Regions from separate parts of the Homo sapiens genome. Here regions 2, 3, 4, 5, 6 and 7 are each linked to region 1. Evidence: promoter capture Hi-C in 16 types of primary human blood cells and fetal thymus (Javierre and others, 2016). All regions are on one chromosome and are shown on one strand. The core of a region is centred on a gene start or on the middle of the fragment in contact, and the rest is flanking DNA. Distances in the headings are between cores, read along the strand shown. Region 1 holds the start of KRTAP1-4 (keratin associated protein 1-4). Region 2 has its middle 4.7 kb from the start of KRT32. Region 3 holds the start of KRT15 (keratin 15). Region 4 overlaps LOC100505782 (a long non-coding RNA gene). Region 5 has its middle 12 kb from the start of KRT32. Region 6 has its middle 4.3 kb from the start of KRT33B. Region 7 has its middle 4.9 kb from the start of KRT37.

Region 1 (4,304 bases), core at 551-3,050:
GTGATCTTGGCTCACTGCAAGCTCTGCCTCCCAGGTTCACGCCATACTCCTGCCTCAGCCTCCCAAGTAGCTGGGACTGCAGGCACCCACGACCACACCTGACTAATTTTTTTTTTGTATTTTTAGTAAAGACTGGGTTTCACCATATTAGTCAGGATGGTCTCAATCTCCTGACCTCGTGATCCACCCATCTCAGCCTCCCAAAGTGCTGGGATTACAGGCGTAAGCCACCGTGTCCAGCGTGTTAACTTCTTAAGAGAATATCTTTTAAGTTGGGTTGCAAAGTGCAAAATATAATCGAGCTGTTTCAGATTTCTAACACTTCTGTCTGACAAATGGCAATGGTAGAACTCAGCGGGTGCTCTCTATAGCTGTTTCTTCTACTATCATTTAGACCAAAGATACACCTTATGCATACGTACATCAAATGAAGGTGAATAGTGGGAGTTGAAGCTTAGAGAGCAATTCAAGGATCAGTGGGAAGAATGTGAAAGGCTAAGGTGTAGAAATTAAACCTAAATTCTCTTGGAAAATAGGTAGTATCTAGTAGCTATTTTTAAATCTATTTAGAAGGTAATGCAATTTCTTTAGATTTTGGGGCATAAATGAAGGAGAACATTTAGTATATTAAATGGAAGGAGACAAAAGATGGTAGAATTACATTTAGATAGAAATCAATAGCTTTGATCAACCTTAACATTTTAGCTAAAGGTCAACCTTTATTGGTCTAGACCTAATCATAATAGATTAGAGCATGTAAATATTTGAACTATAAAAATTCTTTAATTCATGGAGCATTTTTAAGCTGATGGATTCAAGCATAATTTACTTTGTATTTAATCTTTCTGGTTTAGACTTTATGGTTATGCCTTGGTATTATTATCAAATTGCAAATCCACTCTTGAATACCAGCTACAAGAAGACATGTTTAAAGGTAGAAGGAGGACATAACTCAGTTTGCTTTGCACATTAAAACATTTTATTTGGATTAATCAGAGATATTCAAGGAAAAACCAGGTCTGAAGATGCATGAGCATCAAGAGAGAGTTGGGGGAGCAGAGATGTCACTGAAATGATGAACTATTCCATCCTGGTCCTCTGCTCAAGCAACGCAAGCTATCCAGAACACTGATTGATACATCTTTCAGTAAGTGAATTCGGCACATCCACAGTGTCCTAACTAGGAGTTTCATTATCTCTGAGCAGCTTAACAACATCATGGTACTTAGCATCCAAGTAAAATCGAACAGTTCTTCAGAAATCAGCACAATTTTGCTGTGCTTCCCCTTTCATTCTTAAGCGATCAGCAACCTGGCTTTTAGCAGGTGGGCTCACAGCAGTGGCAGCAGCAGGCTGGGCGGCAGCAGGACTGTCCACAGTAGGACGGGCGGCAGCAGGAGGCCTCGGCGTGGTGCAGCTGGCAGCAGGATGGGGGTGTGCAGCTTACCAGGTAGCAGGGGGGCAGGCAGGTGCCCTCCACGTGGCAATCTGGGTGGCACCACCTGATACGGGTGCTCACAGATCCACCGCTGCCCTCCTGGCCATAGCCAATGCCACCACCAATGCCACAGCCGGTTCCGCAGGAGCTGGTCTGGCAGCAGCTTGGCTGGCAGCAGCTAGTTTCACAGCAGCTTGGCTGGCAGCAGCTGGAGCCACAGGTCCCACTGGTGGAACAGCTGGCCATGGTGTCAGGAGTTGGGTTGAGAGCTGTGTTAAGAGAGGTTTCTGAGTTTGGGCTGTACCTTCTATATCTGTCCTTTGATATGTTCCCTAGAGCTGCATATTTACCCAACACCTTTTCTTGATGTCAATTTCAGTGTGAGTCTCTGGCTAATACCTGAGGTGTTTATAAAGTTATAAATAGCATTTCAATAGCCTTTTTCCATTGTACAATTAAGTCTCATTATGTTTCTTCTTTGCCCTCTGGGCGAAGTGAAGGCTCATCATGGAAGCCAAGCACCGAAGTGCCTCTTTATGCAAGTCACATGACAGACTAGCCTTGAGCCAAGTGTCGCCCTGGCACGTTTTGTCATAGTTGTCCTTTGATAACCTTTAGGCAGAATTTATCTTAACTGATCATTTTTCCTTAAATGGTCACTTAACTATGATCATGATTTTATAAACAATTTGTCCAGACTTGGAAAGACTAACATTAGTGTCATCAAAACATGAACTACAACCTGATGTATCAACTTTCAAACCAAGTATGCCTTTCTATGATCAATTTGTGCAAGTTATAGGATCCTCAGAGCTCTATCTAATATTCTTGCCTTCAGTAATAGTGAATGTACAAATTGCTAACTAAAATCTTTAATGACTTTTGCTTGTAGATTGTTTTCTGACTCTATTAAATTAAACATATGTGCTAGTAATGAGTACACATTGTAACAAGTCAAAGAGTACAGAGGTATATAAAGAAAAATTAGTGTCTTTTCCCTTCCTGGAAGATGCACACATCTCTTCCAAAACTAATGCTCTAGAGGTAATCAATATTAAGAATTTGGTGCACATTCTTTGACACCTTTATCCTTGCTTCTGCAAATATAAACCAGCATATATACATATATATCTTCTATTTCAGAAAAGTTTGGGTCTCCTACACATGTTTATAGTTACAAATTTTTAATTGTGGTAAAATATACATACCATAAAATTTATGAACCATTTACATTAACCATCTTAACCATTTGTAAATAGTCTTGTCACCCTTGTTGAAAATCATTTGACCACATTCACATTCAGAAGAAATGAAATTAGACCATTGTCTCACATTATATACAAAAACCAACTTAGAATGGATTAAAAGACTGAAATGTAAGAAAGACTCAAAATGATAAAACTATAAGAAGAAAACAGAGGAAACTCCATGACTTTTGCCTGGCCAATATTGTGATATTGTGAACATGAATCCAAAAGCATCAGCAAAAATAGACAAGTGGGATTACATCAAACTAAAAAGCTTCTGCACAGCCAATAAAACACTAAACTGAGTGAAGACGCAAACCGCTGAATGGGAGAAAATATTTATAAACCACATATCTGATAAAGGGTTAATATCCAAAGTATAGAGGAAACTCAAACAACTCAATACCTGTAGTAAGAAAACAAATAACGTAATTGAAAAATGGGCAAAAAATCTAAATAGACATTTCTCAAAAAAAATCTACAAATTGCCAACAGGTATATGAAAAATTTTCAAAATCACCAATCATCGGATAATGCAAATTGAAACCACAATGAGATATCGTCTCACACATATTAGATAGTTATTATCAAAAAGACAAAAGATAGCAAGTGTTGGAGAGGAAGTGGAGAAAAGAGAACTCTGGCACACTGTTGGTGGAAATGTAAATTAGTACAGCCATTATGGAAAACAATATGAAGGTTCATCAGAAAATTAAAAATAGAACTGTCATATAATCAAGCAATCCCACTTCTGTGTATATACCCGAAGGAAAGTAAATCAGTATTTTGAAGAGACATCTGCATTCCCATGTTCATTGCAGCATTACTCACAATAGCCAAGATATGGAAGCAACCTAAGTGTCCATGTCCATCATTAAATGAGTGGATAAAGAAAATGTGATACACACACACATACACACACACACACTCACACACTGGAATATTATTGGTCATAAAAGAAGGAAATCCTGCTATTTGGGGCAACAGATTAAACTTGAGAACATTATACTAAGTGAAATAAGTCAGACAAAGAAAAAGACTAATATTGCACTTTCTCACTTACAAGTGGAACTTAATGTAAATGACAAGTTATTGGGTGCAGCACACCAACATGGCACATGTATACATATGCAACAAACCTGCAAGTTGTGCACATGTACCCTAGAACTTAAAGTATAATAAAAACAAAAAAACCTCAAAAAAAAGAAAAAGTTGAATTCATGGAAGTAGAAAGTAGAATGGTGGTTACCGGGGGTAGGGTGGTGGTGGAGTGTGTTGGGAAGATGTTGGTCAAAGGATTACAAAATTTCAGTTAGATAAGAGGAATAAATTCAAGAGATCTATTGTACAACATAGAGACTATAGTTCATAACAATATGTTACAGTCCTGAAAATTGCTAAGAGAGTAGATTTTGTGTTTTCACTACAAAAAAACTTATGTGAGGTAATGCATATGTTAATTAGTTTGATTTAGCCATTGTACGAAGTATACATATTCCAAAAAAATGTGTTGTACACAATAAATACATATAATTTTTGTCAATTCAAATAAATAAATAAATGAACTCATTTAACCATATGTGTATTTGAGGGTTTATTTCTAGGCTCTCTGTTCTTTT
Region 2 (4,146 bases), core at 697-3,196, 440 kb after region 1:
TGAGTTCGTGTCTTTTGCAGGGACATGGATGAAGCTGGAAACCATCATTCTTAGCAAACCAACACAGGAACAGAAAACCGAACACCACATGTTCTCACTCATAAGTGGGAGTTGAACAATGAGAACACATGGACACAGGGAGGGGAACATCACACACCAGGGCCTGTCGGGGGATGGGGGGCAAGGGGAGAGAGAGCATTAGAACAAATACCTAATGCATGCGGGGCTTAAAACCTAGATGATGGGTTGATAGGTGCAGCAAACCACCATGGCACATGTATACCTATGCAACAAACCTGCACATTCTGCAAATGCATCCCAGAACTTAAAGTAAAATTTTTAAAAAAAAGAGTGTGATGTTCCCCTTCCTGTGTCCATGTGTTCTCATTTGTTGTGGGGTGGGGGGACGGGGGAGAGATAGCATTGGGAGATATACCTAATGCTAGATGACGAGTTAGTGGGTGCAGCACACCAGCATGGCACATGTATACATATGTAACTAACCTGCACATTGTGCACATGTACCCTAAAACTTAAAGTATAATAACAATAAAGAAAGAAAGAAGGCATAGATGTTGCAGTTTTTAAATATTTGCTATTTAATGTTGTTTTATTTAAACAATGTAGATACACTGCTTTGATAAAAATAAAAATAAAATGTAAAAAAAAAAGAAATGCAGTTTTTCAGGCTCATCCCAGACTGGCTGAATCAGAAACTCTGAGGCTGGGGCTGGGATGCAGCAGCCTGTGTTTAGCATGTCCTTCAGGTGGTTTGGAGACCCACTGAGATAGAGGAAGATACAGGCATACCTCAGAGATAGTGCATGTTCAGTTCTAGACCACCACAATAAAGCAAATGTAACCATAAAGTGAGTCACACAAACTTTTTGGTTTTTCTGTGTATGTAAACATTATATTTACACTATACTATAGTCTATTAAGTGTACCATAGCATTATGGCCTAAAAACAATGTATATAACTTAATTTTAAAAATGCTTTATTGCTAAAAATGCTAAGGATCATCTGAGCCTTCAGCAAGTTATAATCTTTTTGCTGGTGGAAGGTCTTGCCTCAATGTTGATGGCTGAGGACTGATCAGGGTGATGATTGCTGCAAGTTAGTGTGGCTGTGGCAATTTCTGAAAATGAGACATCAGTGAAGTTTGCCGCATCAGTTGACTCTTCCTTTCATGAAAGATTTCCCTGTAGCATGTGATGCTGTTTGATAGCATTTTAACAGTAGAAATTCTTTCAAAACTAGGGTCAGTCCTCTCAAACCCTGCCACTGCCTTATTAACTAAATTGATGTAGTATTCCAAATCCTTTGTTGCCATTTCAGTGATGTTCACAGCATCTTCACCAGGAGTAGTTTCCATCTCAAGAAACCACTTTCTTTGTTCATGAATAAGAAGCAGTTCCTCATCCGTTCGTTTTGCCATAACATGGCAACAATTCAGTCACATCTTCAGGCTCCAATTCTAATTTTAATTCTCTTGCTGTTTCCAACACATCTATAGTTACTTCCTCTGCTGAAGTCTTAAGCCCCTCAACATCATACATGAGAGTTGGAATCAACTTCTTCCAAACTCCTGTTAATGTTGATATTTTGACCTCCTCTCTTGAATCACAAATATTGACATATAGAATAGTGAATCCTCTTCAGAAGGTTTTCAATTTACTTTGCCCAGATCCATCAGAGGAATCACTCTGTATGGCAGCTATAGCCTTATGAAATATATTTCTTAGGTAATAAGACTTGAAAGTCAAAATTAGTTTTTGATCCATGGGCTGTGGAATGGATGTTGTGTTGGCAAACACAAAAACATTAATCTCCTTGGACAGCTCCATCAGGGCTCTTGGGTGATCAGATGCATTGTCAATGAGCAGAAATATTTTGAAAGAAACCTTTTATTCTAAGCAGTAGGTCTCAACAGTGGGCTTAAAATATTCAGTAAACCATGTTATAAACAGATGCACTGTCGTCCAGGCTTTGTCGTTCCGTTTGTAGTGCACAGGCAGAAAAGATTTAGCATCATTCTTAAGTGCCCTAGGATATTCAGAATGGTAAATGAGCATTGACTTCCCACTTGAAGTCATCAGCTGCATTAGCTCCTAGCAAGAGAGTCAGCCCATCCTTTGAAGGTTTTGAAGGCAGACTCCTCCTGTCTAGCTATGAAAGATGCCGCCTCCCTAAACTTCATCATTTCTAGCTTTTTATTTAAAGGGAGAAACCTGCAACTTTTCCTTTCACTTGAACTCTTAGAAGCCACGGTAGGGTTATTAATTGGCCTAATTTCAATATTGCTGTGTCTCAGAAAATAGGTAGACCCAAAATAGGGAGAGAGATGGGGGAATGGCCAGTTGGTGGAGCCATCAGAACGCACGCAACGTTTATCAGTTAGGTTCCCCATCTTATCTGGGCATGGTTTGGTGCATCCCAGAACAATTACAACAGTAATATCAAAGATTACTGACCACAGATCACCATAACACATACAATAATGAAAAAGTTTGGCCAGCCGCAGTGGCTCACACCTGTAATCCCAGCACTTTGGGAGGCTGAGGTGGGCAGATCACTTGAGGTCAAGAGTTCGAGACCAGCCTGGCCAACATGACGAAACCCCATCTCTACTGAAATTACAAAAATTAGCCAGGCGTGGTGTGCCTGTAATCCCAGCTACTTGGGAGGCTGAGGCACGAGAATTGCTTGAACCCAGGAGGCAGAGGTTGCAGTGAGCCGAGATCACGCCACTGCACTCCAGCCTGGGCAGACAGCCAGATTCTGTCTCAAAAAAAAAGAAAAAGAAAAAATTTGTATTGTGAGAATTACCAAAATGTGACACAGAGACACATAAGCACATGCTGTTGGAAAAATTAGCACCAACAGACTTGCTCTAGGCAGGATTGGCACAAAACTTTAATTTGTAAAAAAAAAAAAAAAAAAAGAAAGAAAAAAGAAAAAAAAACGATATCTGGGAAGTATAATAAATTGAAACTCAATAAATCGAAGTGTGCCTGCATATATTTTAACAGCTGTCACCAGAATTCATCTTGCAGGAAAAAAAATGTCTTTACTTGGGAAACTACATTAAGAAGATCTTGGGTTAAAAGGTGGGACCCTAATGCCTTGATTTGGCTGGTAAGACATCAGAGGGTGAAAGGAGAGAAGGATTTGAAGTTCACAGGACAATCCTGGAAGGAAGGAATGAGGAGGAGAGAGACAGGAACCAGGAGCAGGGGCTCCAGGATGATGCTGAGAGGCTGTCGCTGTGAGGTGCAGTCCCAAATGCCAGCGTGAGCAGAGTTTTCCGTTGTGAAGGAAAGACCAGGTTTCATATAAAAGCAGATTGAGGCCAGGTGCAGTGGCTCACACCTATAATCCCAGCACTTTGGGATGCCCAGGCGGGCAGATCACGAGGTCAGGAGATCAAGACCATCCTGGCTAACACGGTGAAACCCCGTCTCTACTAAAAATGCAAAAAAATTAGCTGGGCTTGGTGGCGAGCACCTGTAGTCCCAGCTACTTGGGAGGCTGAGGCAGGAGAATGGCGTGAACCCGGGAGGAAGAGCTTGCAGTGAGCCGAGATTGCGCCAGTGTACTCCAGCCTGGGCCACAGAGCGAGACTCCGTCTCAAAAAAAAAAAAAGAGCGGATTGATAAAGGTAGTAGCAGCAGCATCCAAAGTCACAGAAGACCACAGTTCCAGGCAATATGCCAGATCTGGGGTATGTCGTGAAGATGGAGAAGTAGGGTCTAGGAAAGGTAGCCACAGAGAAAGTGGGGCACTGTCAGTTCTCAGGCCCAGGTCTGGCTGATCCAAAGACTTTCCACTGTACCCCAACCTCTCTGGGGCCAGAGCAAACTATCAGGAAAATAAGTTTAGGAAGAGAAGAGAAAGGGATGCAAAGAATCCAGGAGGAAGGGCCTGTTTCAACAAAAGCAGATAGGATGTGTGTCACAGCCTGGGCCAGCACTGTCTCCCTCCATTCATTCCCCCGCAGAAAACCAGAGGCTCCTTCTTTGGAAAAAAAATAAAACTCCAGAGAAAAGACTTACAGAAACTGAACTGAGGTGGTTGTACCATGCAAAAAGCCGGTTTTCCAACCTGCCCATCCACGTAGCACCTTCTATCAGCTTTTTAGTGTC
Region 3 (4,283 bases), core at 406-2,905, 490 kb after region 1:
GGCCAGCCCCTCATTGAAAATCACCCCTCACTGACAATCACCCCTCTGACACCACCAACAAAAATCTGTACGGCTTCTGGGGTGGGCAAAGTCCAGCCTCACTTTCAGTGTCCATTTCTTGTTTTGTCCCATCCAGCCTCCTTGAGACACCTGAGGAGCTGCCTTCCTTATCTCCAGGGCACGAAAGACCAAGGAGGCAGTATTGCCTGTGGGAATTGGTTGCCCAGGAGAGTGGGGCAGTGGGGTGCAGCCAGCTCTGACAATAGCTCTCTCAGAGACACTCCACCAGCCCCACTGTGGACAACTCATGGTCACTGCCTCCTGCACACCTTGGACACAGCCATGGATCTACAGAACATTCCAGCCAGTAGCAACCTGGAGGGCAGTTAAGAAGGCATTTTACGAATGAGGAACCCAGTCTTAGGGAGTAAAATGGTGAGTGAGTGGGTGGCAGAATGTGTAATGAGTTCCCAGGTCTCCTAAGACCCAACAGTACTTTTGGCACAAAAGACCTCTTTATAGGAAAAGACAAGAGGTTCTAGCATCTGGAACTCATGAGGCCACACTCCAATCCCATTCTTGCAAAAGAGGTAAAGGAATACTTTATGCAGAAGCCTGCAGGGTGCATGAGGTAGGGAGGGCGAGTTGCTCTTTTTTTTTAATTATTTTTATTTAATTAGATACAGGTTCCACTCTGTCACCTAGGCCGGAGTGCAGTGGCACAGTCATAGCTCACTGCAGCCTCTAAATCCTGGACACGAGCAATCCTATCACCTTGGCCCCCCAAAGCACTGGGATTACAGGTGTGAGCTACTGCCTCTGGCTCTTTATAATTGCCCCCACCTGTGCCCCTGTTGGTCCTAACCAGATTCCCAAGACCCCTCTCTCCCTCCCCCAGCACCACCAAGTTGAGAAGATGTGCACTGGCCTCTGCACCTGGACAGCAGGTGCATTCCAAATTTGCTGAGATTACATACCAGACAGTCATTGCCTGGGCAGGAAAGGATTTCCTTGAGTCAGCAGTAACACTGACATTAGAGCTGTGTACAGGGTACCAGCCACCTGCTCCCCTCTCTTTGACATCCGAGGACTCACCTTGTCCCGGAGCTCTTCAATGGTCTTGAAGTATTGGCTGTAGTCGCATTCTGGGCTGGTTGGGGTCTGCTTCTGGTACCAGTCATGGATCTTCACCTCCAGGTCAGCATTGGCCTCCTCCAGGGCACGTACCTTGTCCAGGTAGGAGGCCAGGCGGTCATTGAGGTTCTGCATGGTAATTTTCTCATTGCCAGAGAGGAGACCACCATCGCCACCACCAAAGCCACCACCAAAACCCCCACCAACGCCCCCTCCAAAGCCTCCACCGAAAACACTACCAGCCCCTCCACCAAAGCCACAGACCCTCATGCCACCCCCATATCCTCCTCCTGACCCTGAAGAGACAAACCTAGCAGAAGAAGCTGAGATACTTCGGCTTCCACCTCCCCCAGAGAGACTCCCCCCACCAAAGCCACCTCCCCCAGCCAGGAGGGAACCCCCTCGGGTTGAGCCACCCCCAAAGGTGGAGGAAGAAGTTTGCAGAAATGTGGTGGTCATGGCCAGGTAGCTGGAGCCCGTGAGTTCTCAGCAAACCCAAGAGATGCTGGCAGGAGGTACCAGGCCAGGCTGCACGCTGGGGCTCCTTATATACCCTTCAGAGGGTGTTGTGGGACCTCGTCTCCTCCCCTAAAGCAAAGCCAACTCCTTCTGCCTTCCTGACAAACACAGCTGCCTGCACACCTTGAGTGGGTCATGTGAAGTTTTTCTCTTCTATTTTTTTTTAATGCAACAAAAGAGATGATTCAGAATTAATAGTGTTTTTCCCCAGGGCACGGTTTTAACACTTGGATTACAGGTTCATCTCTCCATGCCAGAAGAGAGCAGCAGGGAGCGAACTCTCATCACAGCACAGCTACCAAGGCCTCTGCCTGTACTGAGAGCAGCTCAGGCCAACTGTGCCCTCAGCTGGACTTCACTTCCCCGAGCCCTGAGCCTCTCCCCAAGAGGACAGCTCCGTGTTCTTAGTTTGGGAGTCCACTGGCCGATCATTATGCTGTGTTATCCAACTCAAAACCCTGTGAGTGAGTGAGTGAGTGAATGAGTGAGTGAGTGAGTGAGTGAGAGACTGCAGGGCTCAGGGAGAGTGGAGGCCCTGGGGATGGGAATGCAGGGCCCCTGGGGGCAGGTGGAGGACAGGAGCCAGGGACCTTGAGTAGTGTTCCAGCTGAGGTGACCAGAGGAGCCAGCATCCATCCCCTTACCTGGTGCTGCAGATGGACTCCCCTCCTCCCACCTCTACTCCCCTCCTGCCATCCTCCAGCCTGTGTTCCTGGCACCCTCACAAAAGCCCAGCAGGCTTGGGACTGACAAGGGGATGACTGATGATCCCGACACCTGCCAACTGCACGGCGCTGAACCTTTGCTCGTTTCTGGGATGTGTTGGGGCAAACCTCCGCTGATAAGGCTGGGGCAAGTTCCAGGAAGCCCCTGCCTTCTCCAGGAGAGGCATGTCGCTGCTTAGCAGGGCCAGATTAGCCCCCATCTGTCCTGTCAAGTGCTGGCTGGGGACGGGCCGCTGCAGAAGGCTCTATGTGCCTGAATGCTGTGGAAGGGAAGAGAAGGGAGACTGGCAGGCAGGCTGGAAGACACCGGAGATCTTGAAGACCAAGGCATTGCTTCACACAGACGGGGAGTTGAACACTCAGGAGAGCCCTTTTCTCTGCCACCAGCTCAGGGACACCTTTCCAGGGACACCTGATACCTGTGGGCAGTGCCACTTGGAGGTGTGGCTCAGCCCTCTGGACCTGGCCCCAGGGCTTACAGAAACTCAGGAGGAGGATTCCTAGCCCAGGTTGCAGCATGGTGAAGTGGACAGGGCTCTGGAGTCCCTCAGGCCCGGGTTTGAATCCTGGCTTTATCAATTATCATGGTAAGACTGTGAGGCCTGGGTTCAAATCCTGACCCTACCAATTACCATGGTAAGACTGTGGACATTTACCTTTTTAAGTCTCTGTTTCCCTGTGGCAAGGGGCGCTCTCAACTCTCACTTCCAGGGAAGCCCTGTGGCCCAAGAGCCCCCATCCTGCCCCCTCCTGGATCCCCACCCAGGTGCCAGACATGCAGGGGCCAGGGTGCATGACCGGCACCTGCGCCTGAGTGCCCTCACCAGGAGGGGCTTTGTCGTTGGGCATCAGAACATGCCCTGTGAGCCTGAGCATGTTCTTAGGCTCAACGGCATCGACCTTCCATAGCCAGCTCCTATGGGGCAACGCAGGTTGTTCTTAGGTTCTTATTTTGCTATAATAGCATAATCCTTTACTTCTACCCTGCACTTTGTGATTTACAAAGCACTTTTGCATCCATCACCTCCTCTCATCCTCACAACAGAGGGTGACCCCCACCCAAGATTCAGAAAGAATGAAATTGAAACTTGGAGAGGTGAAGCAACTTGTGCCAGGTGGCACCACTGGTAAGGGGCAAAGCCAGGACTCAAACAGGTCCTCACACCCTCAACCAAACAGGGCACAGGGAAAGAGTCCTTCCTGCAGACCCCAAATTCCTGCATCTGAGCTGGGCTGGCAAGGGGAACTGCCAGCCAGCAAGGCTGGGGGTGGGTTCCTTCTCATCCATCTTCGCAGTGAGCCTGGCCTCCAATGCTGGGCACAGACAGTGTGGTATTGTCTCATGGGTGGGAGGGTATTGTCTTTTCCTCCGAAAGAAAAATAATCAAACTCAGATCATCCAGAGCTCATTAAAAGCCTCTGCAGACATTGTGGCCCCAGCAATTAACTCAAGAACAATTACTCGCCTTTCACCCCAGGGTGAGGAAGGGCTGGACCCCAGCCAGATCCCCTTCTGCACCTGACTCTCCTCCAGCAGCCCCTCGAGGTGGCTTTCTCTATACTCTCAGGCCCAGGCCAGGGGCGGCAGCTGCCCCCCTCACTGCCCCACGCACAAATCCCTGGTTTCAGTCCAAACCGCTACTGTGAGCTCCAGATCTGGGTGGGGCCCGGAGCCTCCTCATTAGCACCAGGTGGGATGGCCTTGCGAAGATAAAGCTCTGTCTGGCCCCAGCCCAGGCTGTAGCCCCGGGCCCTGCCCCAGGCAGCCTGCCCAGGATGCTGTGCCAGTTTCTGACCTTTGCCCACTGCAGCCAGATGGGGCCATCTGTGGAGCTGGCCTTTTCTCCTTAGAATGAGGCAGTGCAGCCCAGTGGAAAGAGACTCAGCCTCTCTGAGCCTGGTTCC
Region 4 (3,804 bases), core at 861-3,360, 380 kb after region 1:
AGGATAGGGAACTCACTGCTTCTCTTCTCTGGCCAGCTGTGATGCTGAATTCTGGAGATGTGCTGATTCTCAGCCACGGCTATCAAAATATGGAGCTTTTGATTCATGTTCTACCATCTGCAAATTCCAAGACAGACAGTTGCCATAAGGACTCACCAATGGGGGTTACTGGGGAGGTTGGATGGGTCAGCTTGTTTGGGCCTTTCTAGACTGATAGAAATAACTATCATGTAACATTTTCAGAGTTTTGCAATGTAAAAGAGAAAGGCTCTATCCTGATCTGATGGTATGAGGGATTCCTCACTGGAGGACATATCAGGACGGCAAGGCCAGCCCTTTCTGTAGAGGGTCTAGCTAGTCAAGGGCTCATTCCTCAAATAAACTTCCTAACCCAGTGTTTCTCAAACTTGAACCAACATCAGAATCACCTGCAAGTCATGCTAAAGCAGAATGCTGGTTCAGTAAGTCAGGGGTGGTGCTCAAGAATGTGCATGTCTAGCAAGTTCTCAGGTAATGCCAGTGCTACCTGCTGGCGGACCACGCTTTAAGAACCACTGTCCTAAACCTTCTCATGTTTAATTTGTTTCCCCCTCAAAGCTTCCAAAGAACGGGCTTTGGATCTGGTTCAAAGAGACTAGGTTTCAAGTCTTGACTCAGTAACCAACTGAGAATAATAACAGCTGCTTCTTCTTTGCAGGGCTGATGTGGTGCCCTGTGACACAATGTCGGCGAAGCCCCAGCCAGTGCCTTGTTCATAATGGGCATGTCATCCTAAAAGCTCAATTTAAGTTACCTGTTCTGGGGCTTCTGATTCATGTTCTACTGTCTACAAATTCCAAGCCAGACAGCTGCCAGGACTTACCAGTGGAGCTTACTGGGGAGCTTGGACGGGTCAGGTTGTTTGGGCCTTTCTAGACTGATGGCGATTACCATCAGTTAATATTTTCAGAGTTTTGCAACGGTCTGTGGTGCCGCAGATTTGAGCTCTTCCTTTACACAAGGACCAGGTGGCTTATCCAGATAAAAGGGAAATTTTACTTAGCGTCTATATTTTAAAAGCTCTATCTGTAAATCTGTCTCCAAATACACTTGGTGAGGTCCAAGGTTGGGTATCTCTCCTCTGTGCCACTTTGCCGCAGTCCCATTTTTAACTCTAGCCTTCACTGGCTTTGCCATCTCCCAGAACCACTCTGGCGAGCCAGCCACAACCCCCGTCTACAGAAGCATGTGGCTCAAGGAGTTCCCAGCAAGGCTCTCAGCATGGGACGGAGATGCTGAGGCTGGACTGCACTGGGCTCATTCTGCTGCAGAAGCGAAGTTTAATAGCAAAATAAAAACAAAAGTGCCTGCCCCATCTCAGAGAGATCAGGAGGCAACAGAAGAGAGAAAATGGAGCACTTGGGACACCTTGAGGGGAAGAAACAAATCCAGCCATAGGGGCTGAGCTGCTGGATTCAAACACCTATCCACAGAGTGGCACTGTCTCTCTTCAGTCTCCTGCCTGGCTGGCCAGGGAGGCAAGGCCCAGGTTAGCAGGCCTGCAGAGCAAAGCCTAACGAGCTGAAGACACCTCCCCTTTCCCAGCACCTCGGGCTGAGGAGTGTGTCAGTATCCAGTTGATGAGCAGGGCCCATGGGTGGCCCGGGAGCAGGGGGCGCAGGCTGCAGGGGCTGGACTAGGAGTGCTGAAGGCTGGGGTTGCACACGGGTTGCAGGGAAATCTGCATAGAGAAAAAAGGTGTTTGAAACATTGGCATGAGAAGTATGTGAAAGACAAAAGTATATTATAGACACTTTAGAATTAAAGTGCAAAAGAGGACCTTAGACCTTAGAGGTCCCTCTAAGCCTGAAAGGGGCAATGACGTGCCCACAGTCCACAGTGGAGCTGGGGCCAGAACTCAGTGTACCTGTGTGCCAGGCCAGGGTCACGTCCCATATGGAAGGAACACAGCAGAGAGAAAGGCAGAAAGGCCAGAGGAACAAGAATGGTCCAGATGTCAGCCACTGATTCCATTTAAACACAGCCCCTCATAGTGTTCCTTAGTGCTTAAAGGGGTATATCAGCCCTCTGATGCTTTTCACAGGGCTATTGTGGAACTAAAATGAAAGAGTCAGTGCACATGCCCTTAGCAATACTTTAAATGCTATGAGCACAAAGAATACTCGTTATTGGAATACTTCTCCTGGAGAGAATTTAGCAAAACCTGAATGTGCTGGGCATTCAGTATTTTAGCCCTCTATGGGAGTAGCCAGCAACTGGGAGCACAACGTGGTCAGCAAAACAAATGCCATGACCTGAAAACTCCTGTACACCCTCACCTACGCCTAGGCAGGCATTAGCTCACCAGGCCTAGTGGTAGCAAGTTTGTCTCCAAAGATGGGATCTGCAATGCCACCCCCACCTGGCCTCCAGAGCTCCTTTTAGGTCATTCCCAAGAGAAGTTATCTGTTTTTGCACACGGTGTTGACATAGACAACAGGGTACGTACTTGCAGTCCTCACTCTCCAGAAGGTTCCGGTATGTGGCAATCTCATTCTGCAGCCGGGCCTTCACATCCAGCAGCACCTGGTACTCCTGGTTCTGCCGCTCCAGGTCAGCCCGGATCTCAGACAGCTGTTCCTCCACATTGTTGATGAGGCTCTGCATCTGGGCCAGCTCTGTGCGGTAGCGGTCCTCGGCTTCACACAGGGAGTTCTGTAGACAGTCCTTCTATAATATCAAAGAAAGGAGGAAGCAAGTTAAAAATCATGGATCTCCAACCTCTTAAGATTGTGACACCCCAAGACATTGCCAGGTCCAGAGAGCAATCTAACTCCCTTTAGCTGTCTTCAGCCAGAATAACTAACACACTTCATGGTAGACCTTTAAGATCAGAGCCCTCTGACCTAAGTTAATGTTGATTCACTCAGCATCCACATCTACAGGGAAGTGCTTCCAAAAGAGTTGAAACCAAGGTTTAAGCTGAGTCCGTGGTTGGTATTCGAGGCCTGTACTGACCCCAGAGAGCTACTCATGGGTAGTGGGAGCCAAGCTGGGTCTCCCATGCGTGCAGAGGGACTCACCAGTGTGTGCTGAGCCTGAAGCTCCACCTCCAGGGCGTTCACCGAGCGTCTCAACTCCAGGATCTCTGACTGGCAGCACTGCAGCTCCTCAGAGCAGGACATGGCCTGCAGGCTGATGCCTTCAGACTGGAGCATAGAGAAACATGGTCACCTACCTGCCCAGATGGAGGCCAATCCCCACTGCTTAGCAGTCCCCCTCACCTGGGCTTGGAACCACTGCTCCACATCCTGGCGATTGGTCTCCACCATGGCCTCGTACTGGCCTCACGTCTCCCCCAGAACTCTACTCAGGTCAATGGTGGGCTCAATGTCCAGCTCTATCCGGAGCTTGTCTCCCAGCTGACCCCTTAGAGTGTGGGCTTCCTGTAGGCATCAGAGGAGTATGACCCGCCTGCAGGGCCCCCAACTGCCCTTCACCCAAACTCTCAACTCCCACTTTCCATCCTCCCCAGTAATTTCCCTGTGCTCCTCTGAAGATAAACCGCTGCCTGCACCAGCCTAGCAGCTTCCAGAAGCTGTGGATGAGAAGCAATCTCCCACCAAAAGCCAGAGCTCACCTGCAAAGCTTCAATCCCAAGCAGAAGGAAGCCTCCGTTTTTTCCCCCCAGATGAGCCTGAATTCACCTCCAGAAAGTCTCAATGCATCACACCAAGGGTCACACACCTGCTCATGGTTCTTCTTGAGGCAAAGCAGCTCCTCCTTCAGGGACTCCAGCTGGGCCTCCAGGTCACACTTGGCGAG
Region 5 (4,020 bases), core at 1,082-3,581, 430 kb after region 1:
GGGCCCTTGACATCACAGTTTATTTCTGGCACCTTCAATCCATCTTTATGAACATTCATGGACTGTCATCCCCCCAGGCAACCCCTCCAATTCTCCCATCACCAATCCTCAGCCCTCTCTTTCCATGCCACTGACACCAGAGCTCAAGGCCTCATCTTACTTTTTGTTGGAGCTCCTTAATGGTCTCAAAGTGTGAGCAGTAATTGGAGCATATGTCAGGGCACTGCCGTTTGCTCCACTGCTGGCTCTCAGCACCACCCCTGCTTCTCATTCTCCTGCTCCAACTGCTGCAACTTCTGCAAGCAGTTGGCCAGGCACTCACTTAAGAACTGCATGATCCCTTTCCCACTGCTGCTGAGGATGTCTTCACTGAACCAGCCACAGGTGCCCATACTGGCAGGGATGTTCCTGGTCCCTGGCAGAGGACAGGCAGAGTGACTGCTGGCAGGGCCAGGCTGGACTGACTGTGAGCCACAGGTTCTAAGGAGATGGCTACTAGGTTGGTGACTCTCTTACAGGTGGGCCCCAGTCTTAATACTGGGATCTACAGACATTGGGTACAGAGTTTCTAGAGTGGTTTCTGGCCACAGCCTGTCTGGAGCAAGGAGGCTTCAAATGGCTCTTGCCAAAGCTTGAGGAGCAGGGATTTCTGCTTTAACTAGAAGCCATGGTCCTAGACAGTTGAGTTGCAGATTGGTGACAAGGGCCAGGTGCTCAGGTGTGAGTGTTTCCTCACCCAGAGCTTTTATTCACCTGCCATAGGAGCAGATGTGATACACAAGCTTTCCCCCAATGAATCCTCATTTGTTCTGCCATCAGAACAACCCATCAGCAGTTATTCAGTCCTCAGAAGTAGCTCCCCACTTTATGAAAGAAAGGGCTGACTTTGGACTTCTTGTTACTGCCTTCTGTTGTGAAAAGAAATGTTAAATGTTTTCTCTTTAGAGATGCCCCATTGAAAAGTTAGACTTTGTTCCTTGAGTGACTATCTGGCCTCTCTCTAGGAATGGCATTGGCTCTAAGATGAATCGTCCTCTCCACTGACCTTCAATACCCAAAAAAGTAAAATTCTCTGATAAGAGCCTCAGGAATCCCTAAAGAGCAATAGAGCAAAGACTGCTAAGTTATTAGAACTAAAGAAAACTTCCAAGTACTAATTCAACCTTTCGTGCTTCAGAGACCAGAGAAGGACAGTGAGCTCCCCAGGGATGCCAAGCAAGTCAGATACAGAGCCAGGACTGGTCCCAGGGCCCCTAGCACATTCTGTTTCCTCTGCACCAAGATGGACAAGCTTTTTCTGTTAAAAAGACAGATGCTAAATATTTTAGGCTTTGCAAGTCGTATACTCTCTTTGTACTGCAACTACTTAGCTCTGCCATTGTAGCACAAAGCAGACATAGACAACAGGGAAATGAATGGGTGTGGCTATGCTCCAATAAAACTTGATTTACCAAAACAAGTAGCAGTGGGGTTTGACCTGTGAGCTGTAGTTGCCATCCCTGCTTCACACAGCACAGTGAATGAGGCTTAAAAATTGGACCCCTTAAGCATGTGGGAGACCTTCAGTCCGCTCTGGAGCCAGAGGGCTGGGCAGAGGGAGGGCACCTGGGAATGGATGGTGAACTCCAGGACTGGACGCTGAGCCTCAGACACCAGGGCCTTCACTCTACCAGGGCATTTACACCAAGACTGGAAGTTCATCCAATGCTCTTAGAGCAAAGCAAAGCTACCCATATGTTGTTGTTGCTGCTGCTGCTGCTGCTGTTGTTGTTTCTGAAACTTGGGCTTCAGAATGGCTCCAAAATATGACTCAGCTGCCATTGTAATTGGGGAAAGTCAGAAGAGAAGAGAAATTTGTTGCCAAAGCATGTTTTCTTTACTCAACATTCATCAGGCACCTACAATATGCCAGGCATCATGACAGGCATTTTTATATGTACTATATCCCAACAACTCTGTGAAAAAGGTAGAATTACTCCCATTTCTAAAGGGGAGAAGACTGAGATGCATAGAGATTAAGAGTTCTGCCAAAATCACACAGCACATTAGCAGCAGAACTGGGGGTCTAGCCCAGTTTTTCTGAAGCCAAAGGCACTGATCTTCTCCATTAATCCTAGATGCTCATTGGTGACTTTGTTTACATATTATGATTAAGGGACACTGCTATTTAAATACAAATTTGTCTTGATCAGTTGGGCAAAAAGATAGACATCAAATGATCTTAGGAACTTTCTGTTTAGCCGAATTGATATCATTGCATTCAAGTGTTACATTTTATGAAATACAGGCCGGGTGCAGTGGCTCACGCCTGTAATCCCAGCAGTTTGGAAGGCCAAGGTGGGTGAATCACCTGAGGTCAAGAGTTCGAGACCAGCCTGGCCAACATGGTGAAACCCCATTTCTACTAAAAATACAAAAATTAGCCAGGCATGGTGGCATGTGCCTGTGGTCCTAGCTACTCAGGAGGCTGAGGCACAAGAATCACTTGAACCCAGGAGGCAGAGGTTGCAGTGAGCCAAGATCATGCCACTGCACTCCAGCCTGGGCTACGGGGCGAGACTCTCTCTCCAAAAGAAAAAAAAATTATGAAATACAAAAAGAATATTGTTTTATTATTAATGATTTTCCTGGTTATACCCTGGAAGAGGCATATTCTTTTTTTGATCACTCTCTAAAAGGTTTCCTAATATAGTGGTGAAGAAAGATTCAGTCAGTGCAATTCAGAGTCCACACACAGCCCCAACTCCCAGATGCCAAACCCAACTCCTGGATCTTTCGGGAAGCTGTCGCCCTCTGGCCAGTCTTCCTTGAATGGCAGTTCTGCCCATGGGCCCTCACTCTCACCCCCAGAAGAGGGTGCTTTGCACTAGGGCAGTGAGCAGCAGGGGTGAGGCCCAAACTCTTGAATAGCCTTGGGGAAAGTGGTGTCTTTAAAAAGCACACCCTTTTCTTTTCCAATCCCGCTCAGAGAGGATCCCTGATACCTGTGAGGGTTTCTCCAAAACATCAAATATGACAGAGGTTTTATGACTTGACCAGGGTCCTGCCTACATTTCCCTATAAACTCTTCCCCTATAAAGAGTTAATTAGATGCAAATGCTTTGATATGAGGAGAGAGTTCCTCTGAGAATCTCCATGAGTGGTACACTGAGTCCAGTTCCCAGGAGATTCCGGTGCTGGTGGGGGATAAATATCTCCCAAAGTCTATGCCCACGGCTTCTTCATCCATCAAATAAGAGACAGGCTAGGCAGGAGGGTAGCTCGTGACACCTCTGGCTTGAAGTACCATCCAGACACAGAAGATGATGGGCCTCACTTCTAGCAGAGGAGGGTACTCCTGGCCCTGGGCTGTGGGGCTTGGTTTCATATAAAAAGCTTTAACAGTCATCTTGGGAGTCAGACAGGTCTTGGCAAGTGGGAGAGACACACAGGTGTGGGAATGGGGACCGAGTTGGACTGAAACAATATGCACTGGGGAAACGGAGACTCTGGAAGTCCCCAGGGGGTCCAGGGTCCAGGACTTCTGGCCCACAACTCCTGTGCAATCATTCCTGCTGAGGCTCTGGGCTGCAGCTCAAGGTCTTTGCTCTTACTGAGCCCAGTGCTCAAAGAAAGAGGAGATGCTGAGTCTGGTAGTTGCTAGCGATGCTTTTTAAGAGAACTATATTCCCAGGAAGAAGTTTCAGCTTCTCAGAGAAAATGTCTCCCTTCTTTGGGAAATGAAAGAAAAGGAGAGGGGAAATATGTATTAGCCTGAAATAATAATAAACCTAGGGTGCTTGGAGAAAGCATAAAGTGCTTGGAGAGACCTAAGAGGCTTGGCGTCAAAACCCTTGGCTTCAATTTCCACCTGTTGGTTGTGTCTGTGAGCACATCTGTCCACCTCCCTGGGTCTGAGATGACTCTTCTGTAAAACTGGGAAAGCTGAGCCAGATCATCTGGAAGGCTCCTTCTAGTTCTGACAGTCTAAGACAGCTCTGTCCAGTAGAACTTTCTGCAGTGTTGGAAATAGTCCATGTC
Region 6 (4,103 bases), core at 1,090-3,589, 340 kb after region 1:
TGGATGAGATCAAATAACATAAAGCAAATAGCTGAATTCATTAGCTTTTCTCTAATTACCTTGTGTTCTTCTCTCCTTCTTCTACGTCCCAAGCTTCAAAAGGAAAAATCTGACAATGGCACTTTTTAAAGAAAAGGGAAGGAATAGTGTGTCACAGACTGGTAAATATGTCCACAGGGATCCCTATAACCATTGCTGTAGCTTCTACCTCAGTCACAGTGGAATAATCCAGAGATAAGTATCCTTGTGTCTTTAAAAGTGGAGGTCAGAGTTTAGAAAACACAACTATTCCCACATCTTGAGTAGAAGTAACTATAATTTCTGCACAGCTACTTGGCCATTATGTACTAATAGTTGGAAGAACTTGGGTCTATGGAGAAAAGAGCCAAGTTTCAATTAGCTTCTCACAAAGTCTGGAAGGCAATTGCTTTTTACTTACTCCACTTGCTGTGTACTGTGAATTCTTATCTTTACATGGGTGATGCTATTGTCTCTGTTCAATGGCCCTTCATTAAACATGACAAGTAAGTCAAATCCTAACAAACCGAAAGGTTTTATACATGCCCATGTAATAGCGGCAGATGCTATGGTTGAGGCTTCTGGTCTTAAGATGTGAGCAAATTGCAGTTGAGGTTTAAGGATGCTATTTATTATGGAAGCCCGGGCTATTTCCATAGAAGAGATCACATGCCAACCCACCAGCGATGCTTAACCACGGAGTGGACATAGGATGGGGCTTCTGCTGAGGCCACCTTCCTCATTGTGGGACTTCAAAGGCATTAGGAGGCCTCCCTCCTTCTTCCCAAAGCCATCTTCTCCAATGTCCAGGCTCTGGTGCTTGAAATTGTCACCGTGAGAAATGTAAAATTTATTCTTTTAGAAATACGAAGTTACATTGGGCTACTTGAAAATTAATTATATTTTAATATGTACAAATGAGAAGGAGAGGCCAGGAGCAGTATCACTACATGCACACAGAGCAAGAAGATGGACTTTTTGCCAAAGAGGGATCCCAGAGGGGAATTAGAAAAGCAGAAAGACTGTCCAATAACAACCCCAGCCCATGGTTTTGGGCCAGCCTGTTAGAGCTTCCTAGAAGAGCAGAAGATAGGGCTTCCACAAACTGTTCCATAAAGGCAACTGTTGTCAATTTATCAATCCTCCAGCCTCAGGACATTGAGAGGAGAAATTGAAGGGGTAATTCAGGAAATAAGCCAACAAGTTTGGCCCTGTTCAATGGGGCTTCTGATAAGGGACAAGCAGGAGAGGGGCTGAAGAATGAGCCAGGTCAGCAGTAAGCTACGCTGAGCAAAAACAGATACAAACACCTCAAAATGGAACTCAGGAGGTAGTTCTACAAATCCTCTCCAGAGCCACCATGTTTCTCTTACACTCAGTCTTGGACTCCCAATGGGAATGGAGTCTTGGAGTCTTCAGGGACCAAGCCAAGTCAGAAAAATACAAAGTTCATCTATGCTATGTGTTTTTTTTTAACTTTTATTTTAAGTTGAGGGATACAAGTGCAGGTTTGTTACATAGATAAACTTGTGTCATGGGAGTTTGTTTTACAGATTATTTCATCACCCAGGTATTAAGCCTAGTACCCATTAGTTATTTTTCCTGATCCTCTCCCTCCTCCCACCCTCTACCCTCCAGAAGGCTCCAGTGTGTGTTGTTCCCCTCTATATGTCCACGTGTTCTCATCATTCAGCTCCCACGAGATCTATGCTATGTTTTTGACTACTCTAGACTATCAACTCAGTCTAGAATAGACAAGAGCATGACACAATCCAGGACGATGTAATTTAATGGTGCTAGTCTTCCTGAAAAAGCTGGATCCAGGGCCCACTCAGAGATGGAATGAAAACCTATATATGTGTCCTGCTCTGCAGATCAAGGGAGAGGGCAGATGCTAAAACCTTTTGACAGTACACAGAAGATAAAGCAAAGTCAGCTGAGTACAAATGTGTTGTGTTGAACTTTTGCATTACACTCACTATCACGTTGGTGATTTGAGACAGACATGAAAAAAACATGGAAATACAGCTTCTTCCCTCAGCCTCCCACAGACTCTGTTCTCTTTATAATCACCAGGAGTCTCCCCATTGCTTTAACCAGTAGATTTGTCTGATTCTCACCATCCTTGCCCTGGATGCTGTTGACAACTCTTTCATTAGAGCTCCAACTTCTTTTGACTTCTGTGTCCTTTAAGGTGCTTCTCCACTTCCCTCTCAAACTGCTTGCAACCAGATGTCATCTCTGTCCTCAAGATCTGGCAAAACCAAGGCTGAACCTCACATCAGGGACTTTGGAGAGCCCCAGCTGAAGTCTGTGGTTTCTATCAGTGGTCCTCAAGGTTCTTCTATTCCCTGCTAGCCTCCATTGGACAGTCTTAACAATTCCTATAGCTCTAATTATCATCTTTATTTACCCAGCTCTCCGACATCTCCCTCAAATCTAGTTATTCTTCTCCAGGTCTCTCCAATGGAAACTCATTGTTGTTTCATTTTCTCAGGCTGAAAATCTTCAGACCCATAGTAGGTGTTTGTGATGGTTAATTTAATGTATCAACTTGACTGGGCCAAGGGATGCCCAGATAGCTGGTAAAACATTATTTCTGGGTATGTGTGTAAAGGTGTTTCTAAAAGAGATCAGCATTTGAATCAGGAGAGTGAGTAAAGATCACCCTCACCAATGTGGGCAGGTGTCCTCCAATGTGGGTAGTCAAATAGAACCAAAAAGTAGAAGAAAGGCAAATTATTTCTCTCATTGACCGGTAAGGGAGAAGCAGGAGAGGGTCTGGAGAATAGGCCAGGTCAGTAGTAAGCTATGCTGAGCAAAGACAGACACGGACACCTCAAAACGGAACTCGGGATCTAGTTCCACAAACCCTCTCCAGAGCCATCACTGTTTCTCTTACACTCAGTCCTGCACTCCCAATGGGAATAGAGTTGAGCTGGGACATCCATCTTCTCCTGCCCTCTAACATCAATGCTCCCAGTTCTTGAGCCTTCAGTCTCAAACCAGGACTTACACCACCAGCCTTCCTGATTCTCAGTCCTTTGGGTTTGGATTGGAATTATACCACTGGCTTTCCTGGGCCTCCACCTTGAAGACAGCAGATTATGAAACTTCTCAGCCTCCATAATCATATAAGCTAATTCCTTATAATAAATCTCTTTCTATGTATCTATACATAGCCTACTGTTTCTGTTTCTCTGGATAACCCTAATACAGTGTGTGATCAGTACTAGTTTCCTTCCTTTTCTTTCCATTGTTCCTCTATCTCTACTCAGCTTCCATATTTAAGCCATGCCTCTAAAACCTACCCCTCTTTGGCCTCACTCTCCTCCACTTATCTCAGTCCTTATTGTCTCTCACCTCTTAATTGATCTTCCTTCTATTTCATCCAGCTTCTAGGACTCCTCACAACCCAACCTGTACACAGCTGCCAGATATATCATATGGCAAACTCCCTTACAAGAAAATCTCATGTATAATCATTCGGAGCACTTCCAAATATGGCCGTACCTAACTACCTTGCAGTTTCATCTCCTATAACCACACTTACCCTCTGTTCTAGGCTAGGGATTGGGTTGTCAATTTCTAAACACACCTCATAACTCCTCCAGGCAAAGTTCATGCTCAGGAAAACTTTCCCTCTTCTTTTTTTTTTTTGAGACAGAGTCTCACTCTATCATCCAGGCTGGAGTGCAGTGGCACGATCTTGGCTCACTGCAACCTCCGCCTCCTGGGTTCAAGCTATTCCCCTGCCTCAGCCTCCTGAGTAGCTGGGACTACAGGTGTGTGCCACCATGCCTGGCTAATTTTTTTTTTTTTTTTTTTTTGTATTTTCAATACAGATGGGGTTTCACCGTGTTAGCCAGGATGGTCTCAATCTCCTGACCTCGTGATCCACCTGCCTCAGCCTCCCAAAGTGCTGGGATTACAGGCGTGAGCCACTGCACCTGGCCAAAACTTTCCCTCTTCTATGGCCTAAACACACTCACCTGACCAGACATTTCCCAGCAAACTTTATTTCAGAATTATGCTAATATCATACAGTAATCATTGATTGAAGTTGAAACTATGGGAAGTATATA
Region 7 (4,101 bases), core at 1,410-3,909, 400 kb after region 1:
ATATATGATGTTTGGTTTTCCATTCCTGAGTTACTTCACTTAGAATAATAGTCTCCAATCTCATCCAGGTCACTACAAGTGCCATTAATTCATCCTTTTTATGGCTGAGTAGTATTTCATCATATATATGTACCACAGTTTCTTTTTTTTTTTTTTTGAGATAGAGCTTCACTCTTGTAACCCAGGCTGGAGTGCAGTGGCACCATCTCGGCTCACTGCAACCTCCACCTCCCAGGTTCAAGAGATTCTCCTGCCTCAGCTTCCCGAGTAGCTGGGATTACAGGTGCCACCACCATGCCCAGCTAATTTTTGTATTTTTAGTAAAGAAGGTGTTTCGCCATGTTGGCCAGGCTGGTCTTGAACTCCTGACCTCAGGTGATCCACCCGCCTTGGCCTCCCAAAGTGCTGGGATTACAGGTGTGAGCCACTGTGCCCAGCCCACAGTGTCTTTATCCACTCACTGATGGATGGGCATTTGGGTTGGTTCTGTGATTTTGCAATTGTGAATTGTGCTGCTACAAATGTGTGTGTGCAAGTATCTTTTTAGCATAATGACTTCTTTTCCTCTGAGTAGATACCCAGTAGTGGGATTGTTGGATCAAATGATAGTTCTACTTTTAGTTCTTTAAGGAATCTCCACACTGTTTTCCATAGTGGCTGTACTAGTTTACGTTCCCACCAGCCATGTAGAAGTGTCCCCTGATCACCACATCCACTCCAACATCTATTGTTTTTTTATTTTTTTGATTATGGCCATTCTTGCAGGAGCAAGGTCGTATCGCATTGTGATTTCGATTTGCATTTCCCTGATCATTAGTGATGTTGAGCATTTTTTTAAAGTTTATATATGTATCTTTTGAAGTATTGAAAGGAAACTAGTACTTTATATTCTTTATCATATCATGTTTTATAATTGTTGAATATGTTCCTGTTTATTTTTCTCTGTCCTGTTGTGTAGCCTTAAGAAGTGTTTCAAAAAAAAAACCAAACATATCTGAATGTATAAAATAAGAGTAAATGCCCTACAAGTTATGATGCCACATTATACATAAAACTGTGTGCATATATTTTTAAACAGCATAAATACATCTTTGCTCTGAGAAAAAGTTGAACATGCATCCCCGTGAAAACCACAAGGGAGTCAGGGGATGATGGTGTTGATGAAACCTGGGCTCTTGGAATTCTCTCAAGGAGAAATAAGGGGTCTGGAATTCTTCCCAAGAGGAAAACCCACTGTGGGTCAGCTGTGGCTCCAGCGGCCCTGAGGTCAGCTATGACTCATTCTTTACTGGGGCAATCCTTAGAGGGCCTCTCCCTGCCAGGCCATCCCTCAGAGGCCTCTGGGTGCAATCTGCATTTTCCATCTTCAAAGACCCCTTTGTTCCTATCTTCCGCCTCAACACATAGCATCACTATAATCCAGAGAATTGAAGCATTAAAATTCTTCCCTTTGATTTGCTAAATAGGAACCCTCTCTTGACCCTATCCTCTGGCAGGATTTTATCCCATTGGCTAAAATCATGGTTCCTTCTGTCTCAGAACATATGACACTTGTTAATTCTTAAGCATCACAGCTGAAGCTTTGCATCCTTTGCGTCCTGACACACCTCTCCAAAGCTTGATATGTGTCTCTGGCTTGGGCTCTGCATGGTCCATTTTGCATAATGACATAGACACTGCCTAGTCCTTCGTACAGCAGAGGGCTCTTCTGATTTTCTTTGGTCTCAAAGGAACAGGCAGTAGGTGGAAGGCATGAGGCAGGTGTCTGGGATGTACTCAGCTGTGTAGGTGGGAAGGAGCCCATCCTTGACATTGCAGATGATCAGATGAGCCTCCTCTTCCTCCCTTTTTTTTTTTTTTTTGAGACAGAGTCTCGCCCTATTACCCAGGCTGCAGTGCAATGCAATGCAATGGCATGATCTCGGCTCACTACGACCTCCACCTCCCGGGTTCAAACGATTCTCCTGCCTCAGCCTCCTTAGTAGCTGGGATTACAGGCACCCGCCACCACACCCAGCTAATTTTTGTATTTTTAGTAGAGATGGGGTTTCACCATGTTGGCCAGACTGGTCTTGAACTCCTGACCTCGTGATCCACCCACCTCAGCCTCCCAAAGTGCTGGGATTACAGGCATGAGCCACCGTGCCCGGCCCTCTTGCTCCTCTTTAAAAAGAGTTTCTGGCCCCTGAAAATAAACATATATTCCAAGTTGCATGAAGGGAGGTATCAGAGATGAAGAGAGAAGACAGAGGTAGTCCTGCAGCCCTCCTTCCTTCACAGGGGCCACCTCTTCTCTCTTGAGGATTAAAAGATTTTGAGCTGTAATCTCTCTTCAGGCAGAGGGGAAACACTGGGTTCAGAACAGCATCACTTGGTGCCACGGTGCAGACGCATCTCTGAGTCTGACCGTTCTGACGCATCTCTGAGTGAGACAGAAGCAGAGGCACTGGGCGGTCCACAGGGTGTGAGTCTAATCTGCAACCACCTGCTCCAGCTGCAGAGGAAAAATTCTGAAGACACCTAAGGAAACAGGAGCTGCCCACACACTGCATCCTGATGTGAATTACGCCAGGAAAACATCTGCAAACCACGACCAGCAGTGTGTCCTGATACCACTGTGCCTGCAAGGCTCTCAGACATGCTGGGTGAAAACAGAGTCTGAGGAAGGATAACCCAAAACACCTTTATCATTTCAAAAGTCCACCTCAGAAGGCTTTGAAAAAAAAAAAAAAGTCACCGTTTTCTTTTCTATTAAATAGGATTTTAAAATCTAGTTACTTGGGAAACTTTGGTTTGATTTTAAGTATTTTTAAATTATTATTCTGCTTTATTCTTTTTTTGTTTTTCTTTTCTTTTTAGATGGAGTTTTGCTCTTGTTGCCCAAGCTGGAGAGCAGTGGTCTGATCTTGGCTCACTGCAACCTCCGTCTCCTGGATTCAAGAGATTCTCCTGCCTCCGCCTCCTGAATAGCTGGGATTACAGGCGTACGCCACCACGTCCGGCTAATTTTTTGTATTTTTAGCAGAGATGGAGTTTCACCATGTTAGCCAGGCTGGTCTCCGACTCCTGACCTCAGGTGATCCACCCACCTCGGCCTCCCAAAGTGCTGGGATTACAGGAGTGAGCCACAGCGCCCTGCCTAGTTTGCTTTATTCTTATCCCAGGTCTTAAGGTCATCAGAGACTAAATACTGAAAAAGTTATCTTCATTTCCCCTCCCCTTTGTTCCCTGATCCTAGAGTTTCTTTATCTACATGCTAAGGCAGGAAATTTCCCCTTATTTACCTCATACCAAGACCTATTACAAAATCCTTTAATGCAGCATAGTAGAGGTTTAAGACAATGAATTTTGGATCCAGCCTGCCTGGGTTCAGATTCTGGTTCTATCATTTATTAGCTGTGTGAACTTGGGCTGGTGACTTGACCTCTCTGTGCCTCAAATTCTGCTTATGCACAATGGAGTGACAATAGCACCTAGCTAATGGATTTAAGTTTTAAAAAAATCCATACCTGTAAATCACGTAAAATAGTGTCTAGCACAGAGTACATGGTAAGCACTAAATAAGTGTTGTGTTTTTTAATGGATTTTACTGTTACTGGTGTGTTTACATGCTTACACCATTCATAATTCAAAAATGCTTATTAAATTACTTATTTTTTACTTATTTAAGTTAGCAAAGATCAGAAGTTTAGTCTTACTAAAAAGCTTTTGCACAGCAAAAGAAACAACAGAGTGAAAATACAACCTACTGAATGGGAGAAAGAATTGTAAATCATATATCTGATAAAGGGTTAGCCTCCAAAATATATAAGGAAGTCCTACAACTCAACTGTAAAAAATAATTTTTTTTAATTTAAAAATGGGCTAAGGATTTCTATAGACATTTCTCTAAAGTAGACGTACAAACGGCCATCAGGTATATGAAAAAATGCTCAAAGTCACTAGCCATAAGGGAAATGCAGATCAAAGCCATGAGACATCACTTCACACCACTCAGGATGGCTACTATCAAAAAAAAAAAAAGACAACTAGTATTGGTGAGGATATAGAGGAGCTGGAACCATTGCACGCTGTTGGGAAAATGCAAAATGACGCAGCCAC

What was found. The method cuts DNA at HindIII sites, captures the fragments that hold promoters and counts their contacts. A CHiCAGO score of 5 or more calls a contact.
Region 2: a contact is called between a fragment that was not itself captured here and the fragment with the promoter of KRTAP1-4 in region 1, in 1 of 17 cell types (naive CD4 T cells). The highest score is 5.8, in naive CD4 T cells.
Region 3: a contact is called between the fragment with the promoter of KRT15 here and the fragment with the promoter of KRTAP1-4 in region 1, in 3 of 17 cell types (non-activated CD4 T cells, naive CD8 T cells and total CD8 T cells). The highest score is 5.6, in non-activated CD4 T cells.
Region 4: a contact is called between a fragment that was not itself captured here and the fragment with the promoter of KRTAP1-4 in region 1, in 1 of 17 cell types (total B cells). The highest score is 5.6, in total B cells.
Region 5: a contact is called between a fragment that was not itself captured here and the fragment with the promoter of KRTAP1-4 in region 1, in 1 of 17 cell types (total CD8 T cells). The highest score is 5.3, in total CD8 T cells.
Region 6: a contact is called between a fragment that was not itself captured here and the fragment with the promoter of KRTAP1-4 in region 1, in 1 of 17 cell types (total B cells). The highest score is 6.1, in total B cells.
Region 7: a contact is called between a fragment that was not itself captured here and the fragment with the promoter of KRTAP1-4 in region 1, in 1 of 17 cell types (non-activated CD4 T cells). The highest score is 6.2, in non-activated CD4 T cells.

The regions. Positions count from the first base shown.
Region 1 is chr17:41,028,395-41,032,698 of GRCh38, forward strand. KRTAP1-4 (keratin associated protein 1-4) reads right to left here and starts at 1,801. Exons shown (of 1, transcript NM_001257305.2): 1 at 957-1,801. The coding sequence starts at 1,684. The coding sequence ends at 1,319. RefSeq lists an enhancer at 891-1,440. The HindIII fragment of the contact is 2,506 bases long and covers 452-2,957 here.
Region 2 is chr17:41,469,994-41,474,139 of GRCh38, forward strand. No RefSeq gene overlaps it. Among named protein-coding and RNA genes, the nearest start is that of KRT32, 4.7 kb to the left of the region's middle. The HindIII fragment of the contact is 4,488 bases long and covers 1-4,146 here.
Region 3 is chr17:41,517,235-41,521,517 of GRCh38, forward strand. It overlaps KRT15 (keratin 15), which reads right to left and starts at 1,656. Exons shown (of 8, transcript NM_002275.4): 1 at 1,096-1,656. The coding sequence starts at 1,593. RefSeq lists enhancers at 1-291, 1,996-2,995, 4,109-4,283. The HindIII fragment of the contact is 23,808 bases long and covers 1-4,283 here.
Region 4 is chr17:41,404,907-41,408,710 of GRCh38, forward strand. LOC100505782 (a long non-coding RNA gene) reads left to right here. Exons shown (of 3, transcript NR_040111.1): 2 at 3,515-3,804. It also overlaps the pseudogene KRT41P. Among named protein-coding and RNA genes, the nearest start is that of KRT31, 9.2 kb to the left of the region's middle. The HindIII fragment of the contact is 3,030 bases long and covers 596-3,625 here.
Region 5 is chr17:41,453,607-41,457,626 of GRCh38, forward strand. No RefSeq gene overlaps it. Among named protein-coding and RNA genes, the nearest start is that of KRT32, 12 kb to the right of the region's middle. The HindIII fragment of the contact is 2,084 bases long and covers 1,290-3,373 here.
Region 6 is chr17:41,372,050-41,376,152 of GRCh38, forward strand. No RefSeq gene overlaps it. Among named protein-coding and RNA genes, the nearest start is that of KRT33B, 4.3 kb to the left of the region's middle. The HindIII fragment of the contact is 4,497 bases long and covers 92-4,103 here.
Region 7 is chr17:41,427,461-41,431,561 of GRCh38, forward strand. No RefSeq gene overlaps it. Among named protein-coding and RNA genes, the nearest start is that of KRT37, 4.9 kb to the left of the region's middle. The HindIII fragment of the contact is 2,088 bases long and covers 1,616-3,703 here.